7 separate regions of the Homo sapiens genome follow, and all the other regions are linked to region 1. Evidence: promoter capture Hi-C in 16 types of primary human blood cells and fetal thymus (Javierre and others, 2016). All regions are on one chromosome and are shown on one strand. Each heading gives the region's core, a stretch centred on a gene start or on the middle of the fragment in contact. The rest is flanking DNA. Distances are from core to core; before and after follow the strand shown. Region 1 holds the start of RAPGEF2 (Rap guanine nucleotide exchange factor 2). Region 2 overlaps FNIP2 (folliculin interacting protein 2). Region 3 has its middle 290 kb from the start of MIR3688-1. Region 4 overlaps FNIP2 (folliculin interacting protein 2). Region 5 has its middle 270 kb from the start of MIR3688-1. Region 6 overlaps FNIP2 (folliculin interacting protein 2). Region 7 has its middle 260 kb from the start of MIR3688-1.

Region 1 (3,083 bases), core at 323-2,822:
CTCCATCCCCTGAGATTCAGAGGCCACGGAGGGCGGCTGGGGAGAGGGAAAGCTAGAGAATTCACACATTCACACACATACACACACACACACACACTCTCTCTCTCTCTCTCTCTGTCTCTCCCTCTCTCTCTCTCTCTCTCTCTCTCTCTCTCTCTCTCGGCTGGGCAACATAGTGGGAAAGGTCAGTCATGGGGAGGGAAGAGTTAAGGAGCAGAATGTCAAGGAGAGGGAAAAATAAAACCAGGATAGGCGGAGTAAAAGACTCGGAGGTGGGATGCCTTTGGAAGTTGGGGGTCCTGATGCAAGAAGTGGGGTGCTCGGGGCGAACTGTGTCAGGAAGGAGGTGGGGGGACAGGGGAAGACGCAGCCTGCGAGGCAGAAATCCGGCCAAGGGCAGGCGGCCGCCGCGTTCTCACCTGGGGGGTCCTTTCGGGGGGATTCTTCATCACCGCCTGGCGGAAGCTGTTATCTACGTAGGACGCCATCTCCCCTCTGGGAGCGGGCCGGGGCCGCTCCGCACCCTGGCCGGCCTCCTCCCGGCCCAGCGCCGCTGCTGCCTCCGCCCTGCGCGCTGCGCCCGCCCGCCCGCCCGCGACTAATCAGCCAAACCGCGGCGGCGGCGGCGCGGGGCCCGCGGGGGGGCGGCTCGGCTGGGCCCGGCGGCCGAGAGCGCGGTACAGGCGCGAGGGGCTGGACGCAGCCGGGAGGGTCGCGGCGCCCCTAGGCTGCCGTGCGATGCGGCCCGCAGGCGGAACTCCCCTTCCTCCTCCTCCTCCTCTTCCTCGCCGCTCCGCCGGCTTCCTCCGGCCCTGGCTCGACACGCCTCCCCGGCTCCACTCGGGGGACAGTGGCGGCTCCTCCTGGCCCCAGCGGGCCCGAGTTATTTTTAGGGAGGTACGAGTGGCAGTGGGGAGGGCTGTGGGCAGGCGGAGCCTCCTCCCCCACGGCGCTGAGGGTCGCCCCCTCCTCTCAGGGGCTTGCGCAGCCGCCGCCCAGGGGTCTCCGAGAATCACTTGGATCTTCCGCGTCCCCAGTCCTCGGGCGCCTCGGCCGCCGGTCGGGAGGACGGACCAGGTGGGTCTGGCTCAGGTCCGGGCGCTGCGAAGCCCGATCGCCTCGGCCGCCGCTCCTGGTCTCTGTCTACTGGGCTCGGCCGTCCCTCCCGACTGCTGCTGCATCCCCTCGGGCCGCCCAGCCGCCGCCGCCGCCGCCTCTGCTGCTCGGGCCGCCGCTGTGGGCTCCGCCGCCGCCGCCTCCCCCCATCAGCGCGCCCGGAGCGGAGCTGCCCCGGCGCCGGCGCCGCCGCGGCCAGAGCACCCGGCCCGGGCTGCAGCCCTCCGGCCCAGTCGCTCTCGGCAACTTTGTTCCTCGTCTGCGCGGGGCGGAGGAGGGGGAAGAGGGGGCCGCGGACAGCCCGGGTTCGGACTCCCGGCGCGGGCGTCCGAGGGCCGAAAGCCGAGAGCCGCGCACAGCCCCCTCGGAGAGAGTGTTTGGGAAGCGGCGATTCCCCTCCTCTTCCTCCGCCTCTTCCTCCTCCTGCGCCTTCTCCGGCCGCCGGAGCCGCTCCTCAGGGAGGAAGCGGCCTCTGGGGCTTGTTGCTTTGTGCTGCAACCATGGTGAGGAATGAGTGACAGCGTGGGGGCGAGTCGGCGGCCGCCGCATCATCGGGGGGCGGGGCAGCCCCGTCGCGCCGGGTCCCGCCTCCCCGCTCCCCGCCCGCCAGCGGCCGCGCCCTCGCGTCTGAGCGGCACCTTCGGCGGCGCCCAGGTGAGCAGCGCTCTGGCCGCAAGTGGGTCGCGGAGCCCTCGGCCGGGCTGTCGGGTCCCGCGCGCGGCCTGGACCCGAAGAGGGGGCGCAAGTCCTGGTGCCCCGGAGAGAAGCGCAGGGCTTTCCTCACGCAGTGTCCCCCACTGTCTCACGCCGCGCCCCCTCCCCACACCCGACGCGCCCTACTAGGAGACCCAGCCGCGTCGGGTCGCTGCTCCCCGCCCGCTCCTGGCGCCACGCCGCCGCCCAGGGGCTGAAAGCTAACCTTGGGCAAAAGACCGGCCCACCAGCCCGGGCTGTACTGGGCATTCTTTTTGAGCCCAAGAGTTGCGTCCGAGTTGCTTCTGTGGCGATAAATCCTCTTAGGATTTATTTTGCTTATTTGTAATTTGCTGCACCCTCCCCTGCTTTCCAAGCCCACTCTGGCACCTCAGACAGTAAAATGACCACGAAATTAGGCAGAGAGGTTTCAACACCAGACCCACTACCACCCCTAGACCAACAAACACTCCAGATTTAAAGTTGATCACTCCTTAGCGACAGACCAGGATGGCAAGTTCTGTGACATAATCAGAAACATTTATTGGTAGGTCTGGCTTTGCCTTGGACAGAACAAGCCTCCTCCTCTAGATGCTCAAATTTCCAAACCGGACCCACATGGTGCAGAAACAATACCTCGTCCTTCAAGATGTCACCGCTCCTGCTGATTCCCTCAGCTCCCCCCCACTCCTTGCCCCGGCCACGTAGAGGTGTGTTAAGGTCAGCCCAAGCATCGGGGACCACTCTGCTGTTCTGGTCCCAGGGATTTATTTTTGTTTGCCCCCACCCCCCACAAGTTCTTATTTTGATATCTATAGACACAATGAGTTTTATGTATGAGCTACTGCGTTGAACTTTTCAAACATGATTTTCAACATCTAGTTTAAACACTTGGAATAGATTGTCAGCTAACATTTTGGGGTTCCTTAAGTCACCTGTGTGCACTAAACAGCTTGTGTGACTTCCTAGCAAAGGGACTGTCCCTGCCCAACCTTGTGAAAGGGAATCTGAGTTACAAATTGTATCTGTAGACCTTTTTATATTACTCTTGCTGGAACTGCTTCTCTATATTTCTCTTTCACCTCTTAGTTGAGCGCCAACATCAAATTCTCTATGACATAGGCCACTACCTTGAAAGCAAAGGAACATGAATAAGTGCCAATACAGCTCTGAAAAAAGGAGAGAGGCAGATAAAAGAATTCAAACCCAATGAAGTGAAAAAATATAACTGACATCTCCACCTGGTGTCTAATAGACATCTCAGAATTCACATG
Region 2 (3,083 bases), core at 225-2,724, 320 kb after region 1:
AGTTTTTTTTTTATTTTTTATTTTGTAGAGATGGGGTCTCCTTTTGTTGACAGGCTGGTCTCAAACTCCTGGACTCAAGAGATCCTTCCACCTCAGTCTCCCAAAGTACTGGGATTACAAACATGAGCCACCGTGCCTGGCCTCTAATTTTTATTTTTTGCCCACACATTTTATAGGATATTTATGGTCAGGCAAGGTGGCTTATGCTTGTAATCCCAGCACTTTGGGAGGCTCAGGGTGGGGGAATCACTTGAGCCCTGGAGTTCAAGACTACGCTGGGCAACACAGTGAGACCACCCCCGCTCCCGTCTCTACAAAAAAAAAAAAAAAAGGTGGGTATGGTGGTGCATGCCTGTCTGTGGTCCTAGCTACTTGGGAGGCTGAGGTGGGAGGGTCACTTAAGCCCGGGAGGTTGAGGCTACAGTGAACTGTGATTGTACCACTGCTTCCAGCCTGGGTGACAGAGTGAGACTCTATCTCAAAAAAAAAAAAAAAAACCACGACCAACAAAGGATATTTACCCACAATCTCATCACCCCATAATGTCAACTGTTCTTTATTATTTTTCTGTTTTTCTTTCTAGTTCTTGGTCATACATTTGCATATTTTACTAATATATTCATCTTGTAGATACCAACTGTTGCTGGTTGTTTTCATTTAACATAAACATTTTATATTAACACTGTCTTCATAATCATTTAACTATTATATTACTATCCTACAAAGCTGACATAACAATTTAGATACTTCCCTGCTGCTGGACAATTGTTAAGATCCTTTTATTTAACATTATAATGATAATATATAAAGAACATCTTTGTGCACAAACATTTGTTTTTTTAAACATTTTCATGCACAAAAGTTTTTTCTCTTAAGTTACTGAGTCAAAAAAGTATGAGCATTTTTAAGTCTGGAAAGCACAGCCAAATTGAGCTGTAAAAGAGTTTAACAATCTGCACACATGTTGAACTAGACAAGTGATCAACAACTACTAAGAATGAGCTAGGGTCCAAGTTTCCCCACCACCCTACCACTGCTATTTCTTCAGGGTACTTTAAATCATCTCCACTAAACAGCCGCTATCATATGCTGTTAGTAGGCGTATAAACAGGTGCAACCTCTCTGGAGTGCGGTTTGGCAGAAATTCCAACCTGGGTTCTCATCCTGGAAATATACTTGAGCTTATGGCATAAGAATCTTTCAACCAGGAAGTTCACCATTTCTAACAATAAAGCCTGAAAGTAAATACTCCATCAGTAGAGGACTGGTAAAATTACAGTAGTGCCCTCTTATCCACAGGCGATACCTTTCAAGACTTCCAGTGGATGCCTGAAACAGTGCTTAATGCCAAACCCTGTATATACTATGTTTTTTCCCATACATACCTATGATAAAGTTTAATTTATAAATTAGGCACAGTAAGAGATTAACAACAATAACTAATAATAAAAATAGAACAATTATAATATACTATAATCATAGTTATGCGAACGTGATCTCTTTCTCAGGAAATATCTCATCATACTATAGTCACCCTCCTTCTCCTTGAGATGATGTGAGATGACAAATGCCTATATGATAAGATGAAGTGACAGTGGAGATTCCATTGTGCTACTCAGAATGGTGTGCAATTCAAAACTTAGGAATTGTTTATTTCTGGAATCTTCTTTCTTCTTTTTTAAATGGTACTGCTCCTTGCAGAGCAGAGCTAACTCACAGGCAGTGCACCCAGAGTTGCTCCATTTCTTGAATTTTTGATTTAATATTGTCAGACTGAGGTTGACAGCAGAAAGTGAAACCTCAGATAAGGGAAGACTATTGTAGTGTGCTTGGCTGCATATGCAAATTACCCAAGGAGAGTTTCATGAAGACAAACATAAAGCCCCAGCCCAGATCTATTAAATCAAGATCTCTGAGAAGCAGTCTGGACATTTAAAGCTCTCTAGGTGACTTTAGTGTCTGACCAGACTTGAGAACTACTGGGTTAAGTGTTATACATGAATTTATTCAAAGGAATACAAAGCAACTTTTAGCAAAATGATGAACAGTGTAGGCAGCAACTACCACTCTGTCTGAGGGAAAGAATTTTTTTTCCTGTATTTGCATAGAGTATTTCCAAAAGGATACGAAAGAAACTGGTACAGCAATGGTAGCCTTTGGGAAGGGGGATTGGGGTGTGAAAAGGCTTACATTTCAACATATTTTATATGAACTTTTAACCAGATATGTTTGAAAAAATCTTAAAATAAAATCATAATTTCATGTATAAGCAATTTCTCAGGTACACATGGCACTAAGCAATATATGGCAACCCCACTGCAGGGCCAGTTACCAGCGTCCACATGGTCTTCCGTGGAGCCTGTGCACTCAGCACCAAGTGGCTACCAGGGGTCCATCTCTGCCCTCTGGGTAGGGCAGGGCCAGTAGTTCCGGCCGCCCCCTTCTGCCCTAGCAACTAACTTACTCAATGTACCATTCTAAAGCAAACAGTCATTGCCTGATATGCTTGGAGAAAATGTTTACTCATGGCTCACCTCCTCACACAGGGTAGGCCACCATTAATGATATGTTAGTCTGGCACATTCTTTTTAAAGAACATGTCAGATTCGCAAATCCATTTCTAAATTAGTTTCTCAAATGGAAAAATCATACATGGAAAGCAGAGATGATTCCATCTTTTTTCTAAAGTGCTTACTTCATTTAACATGCAAATATAGTCTTCGCAGGGTTCAGAATATCAATATTGTTTTCACAATTAAGTGTACTATTATCTTAAATTTGAGAGAACCAATTTGCTCATTTCATTCCATAATGTATTTCAGTTTTACCAAGCCATACAAGAATTCAAATGAATCTGAAAAGTATATAGAGAAGAGTTCTACATCATCAACCCACAGCTAACAATTTCATAGCTTCATAAATATTTAAATCATTTTTCAGTAGGTCATTTCTGACAGCTGTGGGATTTCATAACTGGATCTCTGATATATTACTTAGGCAAGTGTCTTCTTAAAGGTTTTTTTAGGGAGGTGGGGGTGCAGGTCAATCAACTGTTAGAGCACTTTTACCCTATCATTTTGATA
Region 3 (3,083 bases), core at 421-2,920, 320 kb before region 1:
CCAGCCAGCTTCCCCTCTCACTGGCACTCACTGCAGGACTTTGCAGCATCTAGCCCGGGCACTCTGGCACCCCAGAGGGAGCTCATCCCCCGATCAAGTCCAGCAGGTGCCGGCCAGCTGCGCCGAGTGCGCAGCCCACAGAGCCCGTGCCCACCTGGAACCCACACTGGCCCACGAGGGCTGCGCGCAGCCCCAGCTCCCACCCGTACCTCTCTCTCCACGCCTCCCCACAAGCAGAGGGAGCTGGCTCCACCCTCGGTCAGCCCCAGAGAGGGGCCCCCACAGCGCAGTGGGGGGCTGAAGGGCTCCTCAAGTGGGGCCAGAGTGGACACCGAGGCCAAGGAGGTGCTGAGAGCGAGCGAGGGCTGCTAGCACGTTGTCAGCCCTCATTGCTGTTGTTGCGGTCTTGCCAATGCACTACAATGTTACGGTCTTGTTGTCTGAGGTAGTACCTGGAGTTCTTTGTCTCACGGCCAAGAAAATTAAGGTGCATAGACACAAGGATGAAGTTGGAACGAAAGTTTAATAAACAAAAGAACGCTCTCTGCAGCGGAGAGGGGGCCCAAAAGTGGGTTGCCATTTTTATAGCTGAATCCAAAAGCTTTTGTAAGAAACTCCCCTCATTTCTGCAGCTGTTTGTGTAACTTCCCTTATCTGTGAAGCTGTCTGTGTAACTCCCCTTATCTGTACAGCTGAAAGCACGTCTTTAGGCAGGCACAAAGTGCAGTTTCTCTTGTTTGTGCAATGGTGTGTATGTTTTGAGTAAGAACCCCTGCTCCCCATGCAAGTTCCCCCAGAGCCCACTGTGTACATACCTGAAAAGGGGAGGAAACTTTTTCCTGGGAGCCCACAATTACACTAAGAATGAAGGCTTCTATGTTAGGCCTTGCTTTCTTATCTGTGCAGCTACAGCCTGAGATTTCCCCAGGTGGCTTTATGCGTGCCTGTAGGTTGATTCTTCAGGATGTCTTTCTGTTTAAAAGAATTTTACCAAAGACCAACTTTAGCTGTCTGCCAAACTATTTTCCTTTCCTCCTCCCTCGCTGTGTCACTCAGGCTGGAGTGCAGTGGCACAATCATGGCTCACTGCAGCCTCGACCTCCTGGGCTCAAGCAATACTCCCACCACAGCCTCCTGAGTAGCTGGGACTACCAGTGTGCACCATCACACCAGGCTAATTTTTAAAAATTTTTTATGGAGATGGGGCCTCACTATGTTGCCCAAGCTGGTCTTGAACTCCTGGATTCAAGACAGCCTACTACCTCAGCATCCCAAAGTGCTGAGTTTACAGGTGTGAGTCACCATGCTTGGCCAAAGACATTTTTAATCTGCCCAATTTTCCTGCCCTACTCCACACCACATCCAATATCCAAGGATGGAGCAGAAACAAGATAACCATGATAAAACTCCCACTTTTGTTAAAAGGAAAACTTAAGGCAAATAATTAAATTTAACAGAGTTTAACTGAGCAAAGAATAATTCAGAATAGGTTCAGCACAACTCTGGGGATGCCACATGGTCAGATAATACTTAAGGACAGAAAAAAGAAGGCAAGGTACAGAAACAGTTAGATTGGTTACAGCCTGGCATTTGCTTTATTTGAACATGGTTTAAACAGCTGACCACCTGTGACTGGCCAAAACTGAGATTGGTGTAAGAGTAGATTACAGGCCAGGCACGGTGGCTCACACCTGTAATCCCAGCACTCTGGGAGGCCGAGGCGGGCGGATCACGAGGTCAGGAGATCCAGACCATCCTGGCTAACATGGTGAAACCCCGTCTCTACTAAACATACAAAAAAAAAAAATTAGCCGGGTGTGGTGGCGGGTGTCTGTGGTCCCAGCTACTTGGGAGGCTGAGGCAGGAGAATGGCATGAACCTGGGAGGCGGAGCTTGCAGTGAGCCAAGATCGCGCCACTACACTCCAGCCTGGGCAACAGAGCAAGACTCCATCTCAAAAAAAAAAAAAGAGTAGATTACAGTCTGTTCATGCATTCAGCTGGATTATAGTTCACTATATATGGAGAAAATTTAGGCTGAACTTAAAATATGTAAGGAGGTAGCTGTAGGCAATTTTGAGAGATTGACCAAAACTTTAAGCATTGACTTCACTCTTTCACCATTATAAATCCATTTATTTGGTCTCAAATCCCACTGGGAAATAGAACAGTGGGTTTTGTAAGCTGGGAACAAGGACAAAGAACAATAGGGAAAAAATGGTTGTTTCAGACTACTTTTTGTAAGGAATAGAGCAGAGGGGCCCTCCTTATTATGCTGGAATCTCCTGTTTTAAGAAGACAGAAAAAAAAAAACCTGGTCCATTTTGGGATTTATCTGCTTTTTAAAAGTTTCAGTTTGATCACATAACATTTAGCATGAATGGTTTCATTTTGTTTTGGTCTGTCAGCGCCTAGTGCAAGAAGTCAGTTCAGAACAATGGCTTCCTATCATTTTGTTTAACAATTCAATAAGGGAAAGGTAGGAAATACAGAGAGGTCTCTGGTGCACAGGAGTGATCAAATCCTGCTAGACAGAAAAATCAAAGAATTTACTGTAGCAGTGAAATAGTCTGCTTAGCCCAGTTTGCTACCTGGAAATAACTCTCATGTCCTCTGGGGACCCAGATGTGCATAATAAAAGGTACTTTCTCAACCGTTACTACCAAGGCCAAATTTAAAGTAGATTGGGCAGTATGCCATACTTTGGAACTGGTTTGGGATTCAGCAATAACAAGCTTTTACAAGCTAAGCTTGTTATTTCTTTGGCAATACAATTCCCTTGAAATCTTAGTAGGCTTCTAGTTTTTTTTGTTGTTGTTGTTGGTTTGTTTTTTGTTTTTTTGTGTTTTGTTTTTTGAGACAGAGTCTCACTCTGTCACTCAGGCTGGAGTGCAGTGGTGCGATCTAAGCTCACTGCAACCTCTGACTCCCAGGTTCAAGCAATTCTCCTGCCTCAGCCTCCCAAGTAGCTGGGATTGCAGGAATGTGCCACTCTGCCCAGCACATTTTTTTCTATTTTTAGTAAACATTGGGTTTTGCCATGTTGGCCAGGCTAGTCTTAAACTCCTGGCCACAAATGATCCA
Region 4 (3,083 bases), core at 263-2,762, 300 kb after region 1:
AGAAGTTGGAAGCTGAGCTACTGGGTTGGGGCCATCATCTCAGCAATCATTCACAGATCTCTCATTCTCTGCAAATCATGTGATCAGGACACTCTGTTATCAAGTAAGGTAGAAGGTGTCTGGAAGAGTTGCTGCAGAAATTCTTATGTAACACATTTGCTTACTCTACCTACTTCATCACAGAAAACTGCTCTATGGTAGTACCACTTTTCAGTGCTCCCAATCTCCACATCAGGACTAAAATTATTTAATTCATGAGAAGCATGTCTGAAAAACACCTAGCAGAGAACTCTTGGCTATCTCCAGCTCCCTTCCATTTGGATGTACAGCTATAACATAATTAAATCTTCTGTTAATGCTTTGGAACTTTCTGTTGCTGATGCCTGGATTCCTCAGCAGGCAATGCAGAGCTGTACAAAGTCCAGTCCCCTAAAATGCTGTCAGTATTGAGAAGCAGCAGCTCACATGCCCAAAACTACTACTGACAATTTAGCCACCTCATGGGCATGAAGGTAAAACCTTCTCATCATTCTGTACCTTCTCATATGCCTTGCTCTAACCAACTACACACCTATGTCTCACACTAGACTGGTCTCTGTTTTCCTGGAAAGGAATGTTTTTGTGAATAGCCTTCTCTCTTACATTTACAACATTTTTAAGCATTTATAATTTTTAACATTTATAACATTGAGATACAACTATTTATCTGACAGAGGAATAAAAAATTCATTCAGGCTACTGTAAATGGCATCATACAAATACATATTATTGCCATTAGGGTAATTTTGGAATTACTAAGAGTTATTCATTAATCTGTGTTATAATTACACAAGCCACCAAATGGGATTAAACAAAACAAAGAACATCTGACATTCTTCCAGTTTATAAAGGCATTTCATTGCTTTTGTAGAATAATTTATGAACTCACTTTTAAAATGTGCTATCTAAAGACTTAAAACTCCACTCACTTCATCTTTTCAAATATTTCATGTGCCAGACCCTGTTAGGATGCTGATGATACATGAACCAAACCCCTGCCACCTTTATGAAGTTTACATGATAGTGGCAGAAGAAAATCAATAATTCAGAAAAATATTCAGTGTGCCAAAACAAATGGTGAGTGCTATAGCAGAAGATGAAGCAGGGGAAGGGTAAGCAATAGGGAATATTCAGTGGGAGGGAAACTTATCTAATTATCCATCTCTTATATATGGAGAGTAAAGACTTGGATTAAGAAAAAATCTAGAAGGGCCAGGTGTGGTAGCTCACGTCTGTGATCCCAGCACTTTGGGAGGCCGAGGTGGGAGGATCACTTCAGTTTAAGAGTTTGAGAGCTCCCTAGGCAACACAGCAAGACCCTGTCTCTGTAAGAAATTTAAAAGTAATCAGGCATGGTGGTGCGTGCGTGTAATGCTAACTACTCAAGAGGCTGCGGTGGGAGGATCATTTGAGCCCAGGAGTTTGAGGCTGCGGTGAGCTATAATCACACCACTGCGCTTTGGCTTGAGTGACAGGGCAAGACCCTGTCTCTAAAAAACAACAACAACAAAAATTTAAACAAAAACAAAAAAACCTAGAAGCCTTGGTGTTTTAAAGGCTGTCAGTGTAAATAGTTGTAAACAGGATAAAGAGGAAAATGAAATTAGTGTGCCAACAGTCTCAAAGCAGATGTGGTGATGGAGTAACAGGTCTCCCAGTGGTGTGGGAGAAGGTCTTGCCAGAAGCCCCTCTCTTCTCTCAACACTAGTGATAGGAAGGCTGGGCAAGAAGTTTTCTCTGGAGCCTGTGGCACTCCTGGCTCCCTCTTGACTCATGCCAGTGGAGAGATGGCAGCTTCCATCCCAAATTCCACTGCTACCACCCTAATCGAAGCCTGGTGGATTTGGGGTTTTTTGTTTTGTTTTGTTTTGTTTTGAGACAGGGTCTTGCTCTGACACCCAGGCTAGAGTGCAGTGGCAAGATCACACCTCACTGCAGCCTCGACCTCTAGGCTCGAACAATCCTCCCACCTCAGCCTCCTGAGTAGCTGGGACTACAGGCATGCGCCACCATACCTGGCTAATGTTTGTGTTTTTTGTAGACATGGGGTCTCACCATGTTGCCCAGGCTAGTCTCAAACTCCTGGGCTCAAGCAATCTGCCCGTCTCAGCCTCCCAAGGCGCTAAGATTATAGGTGTGAGCCACCATGCCCAGCAAAGCCCAGTGTTTTGCCAGGACTACCGTAATAGCCTTCGTACTGGTATCTCACTCATTCTTGGCCTGCTACAAATCCATTCAATGGAAGTCAATGTGTATAACAGAATAACAAAGTCAATGAGAATTATTAAAGGAAATCTATGTAGAGGTTAAGTTAGTGACAGTTCTCCTTCAGTTTTGGTTTGACAGGCAAAAATAGTGATACCTACCCAAAATATAGCTATAATTAAAGGTTTCTCATGCAATACATTCATTGCTAGTAAATTAAGTCAGAAAGACTCTTAAAGTGCTCTAAGAGTTCTAATAGCTACGACAACTAAGAAAGCTGCTTGGGAGCTGACAGAAATCAATTTAGGAGAAGAGAAAGCTGGGAAATGAAAGACTGGGAAAGGATATTCAGCTCTGAATCAGCAGACTCTCATTTCTCTGAGTCAGTTCCTCATGATCAGGCTGAGTACAAGGAACTCAGGAGACGCCAGCCACCAGCGCGTAGTCACTGTCAGCAGGGTCCCTGCTGAGAGAGGGTGTCATACCAGGGAACAGAACCTTGGACGACAAGGCAAGAGTTAAGTCTAGTTCTGGCCTAGTCATCCACTACCTATGTGACTTTGGGGAAAGACACTAGACTCTCTGGGCCTCAGTTTCCTTAACCATAAATAGACAAGAATTGTTGGAGATGTTAAATGTGAGCATTTGAAAATCCCTTTGAAAAACTATAAAATTCTAGACAAATGCGACGTGTTAATTTTTATATACACAAGCCCAAAAGTACTCACTGTCCTATTTGAGTTGCTAAACTCATAGATGATTGCACTGTATTTATACAACATGAAGCCAAGATAAATAACTTTGGCCACAATGATACCTGGCAAATAATGATTTTGCCC
Region 5 (3,083 bases), core at 321-2,820, 300 kb before region 1:
AAGATACGACCATTAAAGTAGGTGGCTGAGGATATAATGATGGAGGACATATCATTATAAGTGAGGAAAACAGTGAACAGAGAGGCCAGGGTGTTGATGGACTATCTAGGGGCATGCCAATGACAAGAATGATGCCCAGAGTCAAGATGGTAGGAACAACAGTGAACCGGACACGAAGATCGTCAATAAGAGGGGAAGGAGTAACCAGGAGAATGGTAGAGAATTGCAATGTGAAGAGGTAAAGGCAGGTCTAGTTTGATGGCATGAGTTTCAGAAGATCAAAACTGTTTTAGGAAATACTATGACCAATGGCTTGGAAAGAGCAATGGGGAGCCAGGAGCTACCTGCCCCACCTCTAGGCCTTGTCTGAACAGAGAGCATGAGGAAAGGACCAGCCATGTGTGAGAGGGCTTCTGAAGAAGCTAAGCTTTCAAGGGCAGCCAGACCTCAGTCAGAGCAGCACTATGTTGTTGTTGTTGTTGTTGAGACAGGGTCTTGCTCTGTTGTCACCCAGGCTGGAGTGCAGTGGCACAATAATAGCTCATTGCAGCCACAATCTCCTGGGCTCAAGCAATCCTCCCATCTCAGCCTCCCAAGTAGCTAGGACTACAGAATGGCATGGGCTATTTTTTTGTAGAGACAGTCTCACTTTGTTGCTCCGGCTGGTCTCGAACTCCTAGCCTCAAGCAATCCTCCTGCCTCAACCTCCCAAAGTGCTGAGATTACAGTCATGAGCCATCACACCTGGCCAAAGCAGCACTATCTGATAGCAATATAATGTGAACCACATACATAATTTTAAATTTTCTACTAGCCACATTTCTTTAAATCAAACAGAAATAGGTAAACAATTTAATAACATATTTTACTTAATACAATATAGACAACATATTGTCATGAGAAACCATGGAGACCAAAAGGAAGTGACAACCACATTTTTGAAGGGCTACAAGAAAAGAACTGACAGCATAGAATTTTTTTTTTTTTTTTTTTTTTTTTTTTGAGACGGAGTTTCTCTCTTGTTGCCCAGGCTGGAGTGCAGTGGTGCATTGGGCCTAGTTAATTACTAATCTCAGCTCACTGGAACCTCCGCCTCCTGGGTTCAAGTGATTCTCCTGCCTCAGCCTCCTGAATAGCTGGGATTACAAGTGCCTACCACCAAGCCCGGCTATTTTTTGTATTTTTAGTAGAGATGGGGTTTCGCCATGTTGGCCAGGCTGGTCTCAAACTCCTGACCTCAGGTGATCCGCCCACCTCAGCCTCCCGAAGTGCTGGGATTACAGGCATGAGCCACCGCGCCCCGTCAGCACAGAATCTTATACCCACCTAAGTATCCTTCAAGATAGTTTAAGTTCCTTTTTTCATATGAAGTCTTCAAAATCCAGTATGTGTTTATGCTGATACCGCATCTCAATCTGGACTAGTCACATTTCAAGTGTTCAACAGCCACATATGGGTAATAGTGGCTGCATGGGAAAGCTCAGAGTTAAACAAGAAGGTGAAGGAAATGTTCCCAGATGAGAACGAAGACAGGAAATTGTACTGATGACACACTCTGAATTCCAGAGGCTCAGAGGAATGACTGAGGGTCACAGAGGTGTGGGAGCATGAGTCGGATGAGAGAATGTTCTGAACCCCATGGGAAAAACGGTAGGAGTAATGAAGGTTGACCTTGAAGGCTTGGACTTGGACTTTCAGTAGTAACTGAAGTAAACAGGTCCATAAGTGCTGGAGGATTTGTCCCAGGGCTCTCCTGCAGGGATGGGATAATCACCTCTCATTATAGCCTGCTCTAGGGCACTGGTGCCAGGCAATTTGTATCGGAGACAAAGAGAGAATGGAGGGATGGGGCCTGGTGGATTATCAGAGCCCTTGGGCTGTGTAGTGCTCCTTGGGTCCTGCCGAGGGAGGGCCTCAGGCTGGGGGAGAACCCAGAGTGCTCTCTGTATTCCTGCCCCAGTCTTGCTGCTGGCTGTGCGGGGTAAAAATAGAGGAAGCATGACGGGGAGTGGGGGGCTGGGCAGGGTTGGTTACTAAACAAAATAGCATTTTACCTGAGAAAAATAACACAGAATAGTGATACTGATGGCTGTCCTTAGCTAAAGGATGCTGACAACATTTTAAAAAGGAAATGAAATAAACAGAGCAGACTCAAGAAGGGGTGGAGAGAAGGCAAGAAAAGAGAAGCAGGCGGGAGAGGAAGAACAGAGGGTGTGGAGCAGGTCAGGAAGAGGGACTCAGAGGGGAGGAGTGAGCAGCAGGAAGCCTTCAGGCATTTTGTCCCCCTTGTTTCCAGGGACCCTAAGAAGATCAGATATCCATGGACTGGTGGCCCCTGTCCTGCAGATGGTGACCGTCAATGCCTAAGATCCAAGCCCTGCTCCCAGGCACACCCATCTAGACCCAAGGACACTTTCTCATTGCTGACGGGCTAGGCTGGCTGTGTCCCGCTTGGGTCTCCCCTGCTTCCCCCACAAAATCATGTGCATCCACAACTTATCTCATCTGTCCTTGGAATAAACCATAAATCCCTTCTTAGCATCTGTTTCCCATCAGAGTTCTTCCAAGGAGAGGGGCTGCTCCCCAGCCCTCAGCCAGCTCGTTCCCTCCAACTTGTCTTGTCAGTGCTGACTGTCCGCCTCAGAAATGCACCTCCCAGGATCAGAACAGTAGCTGCAGCATCTCCAAAGGCTTAGCTGCACTCCAAGCTTGTCCTCGGAAGTTTAGAAATGAGGAAATAGCCAGCAGCTGTTCTCAACGAGAAGGTGCAGCCAGCGTCCAGCCAGCAGCAGTTCTGCAGGGTGGGAGGTGGAGCGGGGGCGCGTGTGAAACTTCTCCCAGGCAGGTCCCCACAAGGTGGGAGAGGCAGCGAAAGCCTGGGGGGGAAGCTTCACTGTGATTAAAATGGTCTGCCTCATCCAGCAGCATCTTTGAGCGAAACATTATCTCAGTCTGTAAAAAAGAAGCCTGTGAGAAGGTTTCACTAGTTAGTCTAATTTTGGAATAGCATTCTACACAGTTCCGAGGGAAAGAATTGACACTTGCTAGATTAATTCAAATTGGTTTAACTGCAAACAGAATCA
Region 6 (3,083 bases), core at 247-2,746, 290 kb after region 1:
AATATAGTGAGATTCTGACTCTACAAAAACAAAACAAAAAACCCCCATAGAATCTCTATAAATGGCCCATTTTTCCCCAAAATGGTTCCCTTAATTCTTAAATGCACATTATTTATTCTTTTCTGATATCTATAAACTAGAAACTACTTGTACTTAAAAATAGCCAAACTGACAAAAAAAAAAGAGCTTTACTGTTCATCTCCATGCATATATTAATTCAATAATCACTGAGCTAATTTTTTTTTTTTTTTTTGAGACAGAGTCTCACTCTGTCTCCCAGGCAGGAGTGCAGTGGTGCAATCTCGGCTCACTGCAACCTCCACCTCCTGGGTTCATGCGATTCTCCTGCCTCAGCCTCCCAAGTAGCTGGGATTACAGGCGCCCACCACCACACCTGGCTAATTTTTTTGTATTTTTAGTAGAGAGGGGGTTTCAGCATGTTGGCCAGGCTAGTTTCGAACTCCTGACTTCAACTGATCCGCCTGCTTTGGCCTCCCAAAGTGTTGAGATTACAGGCATGAGCCACTGCGCCTGGCCGAGCTAATTCTTTTACACCCTTGTCAGCATAATCAAAGCCGTCAACACATTATTATATTCCTGGATTACTGAAATACATATTGGTCTGCAATTATAAAAGGTAACATGCATCAAGATGATTTCATATCTTTCCCCTCCCTCATTTTGGGAAATCATATACTAATAATAGACAACGGAATAAATTTCAAAGTAAATACCCAAGACATTGCCTTATATGTTATTCACTTCTAGATCTAATTAAACCGTATGCAGATAAGGTAATACTTCCATTTTCCAAGAAGTTTCCAGAGGTCAAAAGCATGATTCTCTGTGTAAGGTCTCTCGTTTGCAAGATGAAAGAACCAAAATAAATAGACAATTGTCACCTATTTTGGGTTGTAAAATACTATCTCTAAAAGAGATAGGTTAAAATAAATATATATATATATACTCGTGACCCAGCAAGTTCACTTCTAGGAATGAATCCTACAGATTAATTTGCACAGGCACAAAATGATTATGTACAAAAAGGTAATGACTGCAGCACTGTTTGGAAACAAATTGTCAGCAGGATGATTAAATAAATTATGGTACATCCATACAAGGGAGTGCTATACTGACACAGCAAAGAATAAGGAAGCTCCTTAGGTAAGTATGTAATAAACTCCAAGACATATTTTTGACTGGAACGAAAATAAGTATAAAATATTGTGTATAGAAAGCTACCATAAGTCTAGAAAAAGGAAAAATTGGAGGTAAAGAACTCTGGGTTTTATTATACACGTATAGACTATCTCTAGAAGAAAAACAATGAATTGGTAATACTAGTTGACTCTGGAGTAGAAAGCTGGATTACTGGGCCGGGCGCGGTGGCTCACACCTCTAATCCCAGCACTTTGGGAGGCCGAGGCTGGCGGATCACGAGGTCAGGAGATCAAGAGCATCCTGGCTAACACGTGAAACCCCGTCAAATTAGCTGGGCGTGGTGGCGGGCGCCTGTAGTCCCAGCTACTCGGGAGGCTGAGACAGGAGAACGGCGTGAACCCGAGAGGCGGAGCTTGCAGTGAGCGGAGCTGGCGCCACTGCATTCCAGCCTGGGCGAGAGAGCAAGACTCCGTCTCAAAAAAAAAAAAAAAAGCTGGATTACTGATGAAAAAGAAAGCAGAAGACTTTTCATTCTACACTCTTTACAGAGCAAAGGGAAAGGCTTTCTCTGCACCATGTAATAAACATCCATCAAAACAGCATAGTGAGAAGGAGTGTAGACTGGACCCAGACATCCTGGGCTCAGGTCCTACCTCTGCCTCTTCCTAGCTATGTAACTTTGGTGAGTTACCTAATCTCTTTGTTCCTCAACAGCCTCATCTGCAAAATGGAGATAATATAATAGTACCAACCTTACAAGTGCTGTTTTGGTGACTAAATGTAAAGCACTTAACACGGAGTCAGGCACGCTGACTGTGCTCTAAACATGCACCACAATTTTGTGCCTTTTGAATATTAAGCCGTGTGACTGTATTGTCTCTTGAAAAAGTAAAAACAAACAACAAAGATGAGGACTACAACAGGAACACCCTATTTTTTTAAACCCAAAGAATCTATCATTGCTTTAAGACAAGCCCTTAACTACTGTTTCCTTTAAGAGGCTTCTTGGTAGCTAAAGCATGAGGCAGTGGGTGAACTCCTACAGGGAAACCACCTTAATGAATTCCAGGCATTCAGATTCAGTTTTCAAATATGTAGTTTGGCCTAGACAATGGCATTTATTGAGCTTTCTTCTCAACACTTGTACACTACATTTTCCTGTCCTTCATCCCCTCCCTCCCCCAAAGACAGGAGAAAGTTTCTCTCTAAAAAAGCAACCCCTTTTCTCATTGATTAAACCCATGTATGTCTTTCAGTTTATGATTGCTGTTCTAGTGGTGTATCAGATGGATTCCCATCATATTAAATAACTGCCTTTTTTACTGCATAATTCATGCAGAGCCTAGAGACACCAATTCCAGAAGGTCTGGTGTTTGCATGTAGGCAGGGGAAGGCTGGTGATAAGAACTGCACAGCACATGCACAAATAATTGCCTAATATTTTAGAGTTTACCAAACACTTTTACAGAATTCAACTGAGCTGACCTTCTCAAATGTCCTGTGAGAGTCTGTATTATATAACGTTTTACACGGAAGTTAGGAGACTTTAACAAGGTTATGTCCAGTAAGTGGCTAAGTCAGGACTAAAATCAGTCTCCTGGCTCTAAATTCTGTGCTCATCCAACTCGACTGCACTATCACCTTGATACCAGTAGCAAACAAGTTAGGATAACATTCTCTTCCTTCCAGGACCTTCCTCTGCATGTCCTTCTGAGGTGTAAAAACCTGCACTCCAGCTTGGGCAGAGTGAGGCTCCATCTCTTAAAAGAAGAAGGAGGAGAAGGAGGAGGAAGAAAAGGAGGAGGAGAAGGAGGAAGTGTGGCATTGACAAAAGAATAGGGAAACTGATCAATGGAACAGAATAGAGACTTCAGAAAAAAATCCACATAAATATAAATCAATATTTGACAAAAGAGCAACAG
Region 7 (3,083 bases), core at 372-2,871, 280 kb before region 1:
GACTGGGATGTGTCTTAATGTAAATTTATTTGGATTTATCTTGTTTGTGGTTTGCTCAGTATCTTCAATCTGTAGGTCTGGGTAGTTTTCAGCCATTATTTCTTCAATATTTTTTGAGCTCCATCCTCTTACTCTTCTCCTTTTAGAACTCTGATACCAAGAATGTTAAATCTTTATAGTCCCATAATTCCCTGAGGTTTGTTCTTTTTTTTTGTTTGTTTGTTTTTCAATCTTTTTCTCTCTGTTCTTCAGATTGGGTAATTTCTATTGTCCTATCTTCAAGTTCATTATTTCTTTCCTCTGTCCCCTCTATACTGTTTTGAGTCCATTCACTGAATTTTAGCTATTATATTTTTCAGTTCTAAACTTTTCATTTATCTTTTTGTATATCTTTTATTTCTTTGCTGATATAATACTGTCTATTTTTTATTTGTTTCAAGCATGTTTATAATGCTTACTGAAACATATGATGATTTCCTTGAGACCTTTATCAGATAATTCTAACATTGCTGTCGTTTCAGTGTTAGGATCTATTTATTATCTTTTTTTCATTCAGTTTGAGGTCTTCTTTATTCTTGGTATGAGTGATTTTTCTATTAAAACCTAGATATTTGTGTATTATATTGAGGTTTGGGATCTTATTTAAATTTCTTGCAAAGGAAAATGGGAGTGGGGAGTGAGCTGCCTGATTACTGCCAGATGAGGTCAAGTTTCAGGTTCCCACCTGGCTCCCACTGAGACCTGAGGGGAGGGGCTACTCATGACTGTTAGGTGAGAGTGGAAGTCCTGCTTCGCATTCAGCCTCTACTCCTGGCTGGGAGGGGTAGAAGAACCTTATTACTGCTCCCCTCTTGGCCTGACATTATGTTGGAGAAGTGGCTTAGGTGAAAGCTTTGTCTCCAGTAGGTCTCCTTTGAGGCCACCCTAGAAGGAAGGGGCAAAGGCATCTCATTACCACTGGATAGGTGTGGAAATCCATGTGGTATCCACTGACACTGCATGAGAGGGATGAAAGTTCCATCTCCCTACTCAGTTTTCTCTGACACTTGTCCAGTGAGAGAGTGGGAGGTGGAGGCTGGTGCTACTGCCATTACATCCTGGGGACAGTGCAAGTCTGCTTCCTCTTGAGCTTTCACTGGGAGTGGGGCTAACATTTTTTCTGTGGTGTTTGGCTGGAGTGGAGCAGTTATTGTCCAATCTTTGTCTCATATATGTATTTTTATGTGTGTGTGTGTGTGTGTGTGTGTGTGTGTGTGTGTGTACATATATTTTTTTTAAATAGAGATGGTGTCTTGCTATGTTGCCCAGCAGGCTGGTCTTGAACTCCTGAGCTCGAGCTATCCACCCACCTTGGCCTCCCAAAGTTCTGGGATTACAAGCGTGAGCCACTGCGCCCAGCCTGTCTAATCATTATCTGTCTCATTAGCTACCCATCTCTTGTTCTTTCAGCTGGAGAGGGCAGGCTTTTGGTAATTTTTGTTTTGTTTTGTTTTGTTTGGCGTGCATTCATTGGTATTTCGGGGTTACGAGTTTCTTTATCTATGAGTCTGGGATATGTGAGTTAAAAAGAAAACCCAGGGAACACACTGCCTCTGGTCCTGTGGTCTCCAGCCAGTCAGCCTTCTCCACCTTTCAGAGTCATCATATGCTTGTTTAATATGTAAAGTCTAGGGTTTGTAGTTGTACTTTGTGAAAGCAATAGGGAATAGTACATTCATTCAATGGATAAGGCATTGGCCTCCTTAAGGGTTGGGCTTTGGGAATAGTATATTCATTCTATCTTCCAGAAGTGGATTTTTTTTTTTTAAAGAAACTGCAGTAAGCTATTATACACACAAGAGGTCTCTTCTGACATACACTTTTGTTTTTTACTCAAGAAAGGCTAATTTTTAGCATTCTCAAACATAATTCTGAAGGATTAATTTGTCATTTTATTTTAAATTCTTAAATATCCAAATTTTCTTCCTTCTCATCTTGAAAAAAATCAGCTTTATCTCATCATTTTCTCAGGTTTATGTTATTCAATAGGGGAGACTATGAGCCTGACAAAACTGTGACATCATTATTATGTATCCACATTAATCAGTGTATTTTTGACACACTGCATTCATTAAAGTCTTTGAAGGAAACATATCACTGCCTTCAAAGATATTACATTCTAAAAATACAAAGTAAAATGTAAAGTAAGATTTCAGAATTTCGAAATTAGGCCGTTTTAGTTAGGAAGAATAAGTTCTAGTGATCTATTGCATATCAAAGTGGCTACAGTTAACAATAATGTATTGTATATTTTAAAATTGCCAAAAGAGTAGTTTATAAATGTTTGCCCTGCAGAGAAATGATAAGCTTGTGAGGTGATGAATATGTTAATTAGCCTGGTCTGCTCATTCCACAATGCACACATACATTAAGACATCATTGTACCACATAAATATTATGCAATTATTATTGTCAATTTAAAATTAATAATTAAAAATTAAAAAAAAATTGAAATTGGTTTATTCACATATCTTTCACACACAAAGAAGCATTCATTGAAAACCTACATTGTTCCCACATCATGAAGATAAATGCAATTTACAATAAACAATCTTTCCCATTTTAATCAATATTTGTAGCTGGAGTGAGACAAGAGATGTTCTAATTCTTGAATCTCTAAACTTGTGTTTATCAAATGTAAACACAAAAGTGAGTTAAATATTGCAACAGGAAATTGGGGCTATCCTAGTTGATTGTCAGCTCCTACTGAGCAGGCAGTGTTGCCTGCTCATAACCCCTCACCCTCATTCCTTCATCTCCTCTCAGGATAGAATGATCAATCTTTTCAAGTGTCACCACAGAAATTTAAATTGGAACGCTTAGTGCCTTTGGAAATGTAGATTACCATTCCAGTTCAAGTGTAGGTGAAGGTCATAAGCTGCTTCTCTAACTCCACTCTCTATAAGCCTTTGGCCATCTAATAATTTAAAACCAATTTCTTTCCATTCAGATGGAGAGGCATTCCCACGACCTCTAACCAGCAAGCAGGATTTTACTACTAAATCACTTCTGCATTTAAAAATAAAAAATTACCATAACAAAAC

The links. Contacts are between HindIII fragments. The CHiCAGO score rates a contact against its expected background, and 5 or more counts as called.
Region 2: a fragment that was not itself captured here is called in contact with the fragment with the promoter of RAPGEF2 in region 1 in 13 of 17 cell types (non-activated CD4 T cells, naive CD8 T cells, total B cells and 10 more); the score reaches 19.4 in non-activated CD4 T cells.
Region 3: a contact is called between a fragment that was not itself captured here and the fragment with the promoter of RAPGEF2 in region 1, in 1 of 17 cell types (endothelial precursors). The highest score is 5.2, in endothelial precursors.
Region 4: a fragment that was not itself captured here is called in contact with the fragment with the promoter of RAPGEF2 in region 1 in 12 of 17 cell types (non-activated CD4 T cells, fetal thymus, naive B cells and 9 more); the score reaches 11.0 in non-activated CD4 T cells.
Region 5: a contact is called between a fragment that was not itself captured here and the fragment with the promoter of RAPGEF2 in region 1, in 1 of 17 cell types (endothelial precursors). The highest score is 6.8, in endothelial precursors.
Region 6: a contact is called between a fragment that was not itself captured here and the fragment with the promoter of RAPGEF2 in region 1, in 13 of 17 cell types (total B cells, neutrophils, megakaryocytes and 10 more). The highest score is 12.5, in total B cells.
Region 7: a contact is called between a fragment that was not itself captured here and the fragment with the promoter of RAPGEF2 in region 1, in 1 of 17 cell types (endothelial precursors). The highest score is 9.4, in endothelial precursors.

The regions. Positions count from the first base shown.
Region 1 is chr4:159,101,568-159,104,650 of GRCh38, reverse strand. It overlaps RAPGEF2 (Rap guanine nucleotide exchange factor 2), which reads right to left and starts at 1,572. Exons shown (of 30, transcript NM_001394067.2): 1 at 420-1,572. The coding sequence starts at 488. RefSeq lists silencers at 433-852, 820-1,114, 863-1,152, 1,193-1,412, 1,543-2,082 and an enhancer at 1,731-2,422. The HindIII fragment of the contact is 5,553 bases long and covers 1-3,083 here.
Region 2 is chr4:158,776,986-158,780,068 of GRCh38, reverse strand. All of the region lies in intron 1 of FNIP2 (folliculin interacting protein 2), which reads right to left. Among named protein-coding and RNA genes, the nearest start is that of FNIP2, 9.5 kb to the right of the region's middle. The HindIII fragment of the contact is 7,658 bases long and covers 1-3,083 here.
Region 3 is chr4:159,418,033-159,421,115 of GRCh38, reverse strand. No RefSeq gene overlaps it. Among named protein-coding and RNA genes, the nearest start is that of MIR3688-1, 290 kb to the right of the region's middle. The HindIII fragment of the contact is 2,133 bases long and covers 604-2,736 here.
Region 4 is chr4:158,796,530-158,799,612 of GRCh38, reverse strand. The region is part of intron 1 of FNIP2 (folliculin interacting protein 2); the gene reads right to left. Among named protein-coding and RNA genes, the nearest start is that of FNIP2, 29 kb to the right of the region's middle. The HindIII fragment of the contact is 4,816 bases long and covers 1-3,083 here.
Region 5 is chr4:159,400,662-159,403,744 of GRCh38, reverse strand. No RefSeq gene overlaps it. Among named protein-coding and RNA genes, the nearest start is that of MIR3688-1, 270 kb to the right of the region's middle. RefSeq lists an enhancer at 1,223-2,422. The HindIII fragment of the contact is 2,281 bases long and covers 430-2,710 here.
Region 6 is chr4:158,813,955-158,817,037 of GRCh38, reverse strand. The region is part of intron 1 of FNIP2 (folliculin interacting protein 2); the gene reads right to left. Among named protein-coding and RNA genes, the nearest start is that of FNIP2, 46 kb to the right of the region's middle. The HindIII fragment of the contact is 7,790 bases long and covers 1-3,083 here.
Region 7 is chr4:159,383,599-159,386,681 of GRCh38, reverse strand. No RefSeq gene overlaps it. Among named protein-coding and RNA genes, the nearest start is that of MIR3688-1, 260 kb to the right of the region's middle. RefSeq lists enhancers at 2,432-3,005, 3,006-3,083. The HindIII fragment of the contact is 1,455 bases long and covers 894-2,348 here.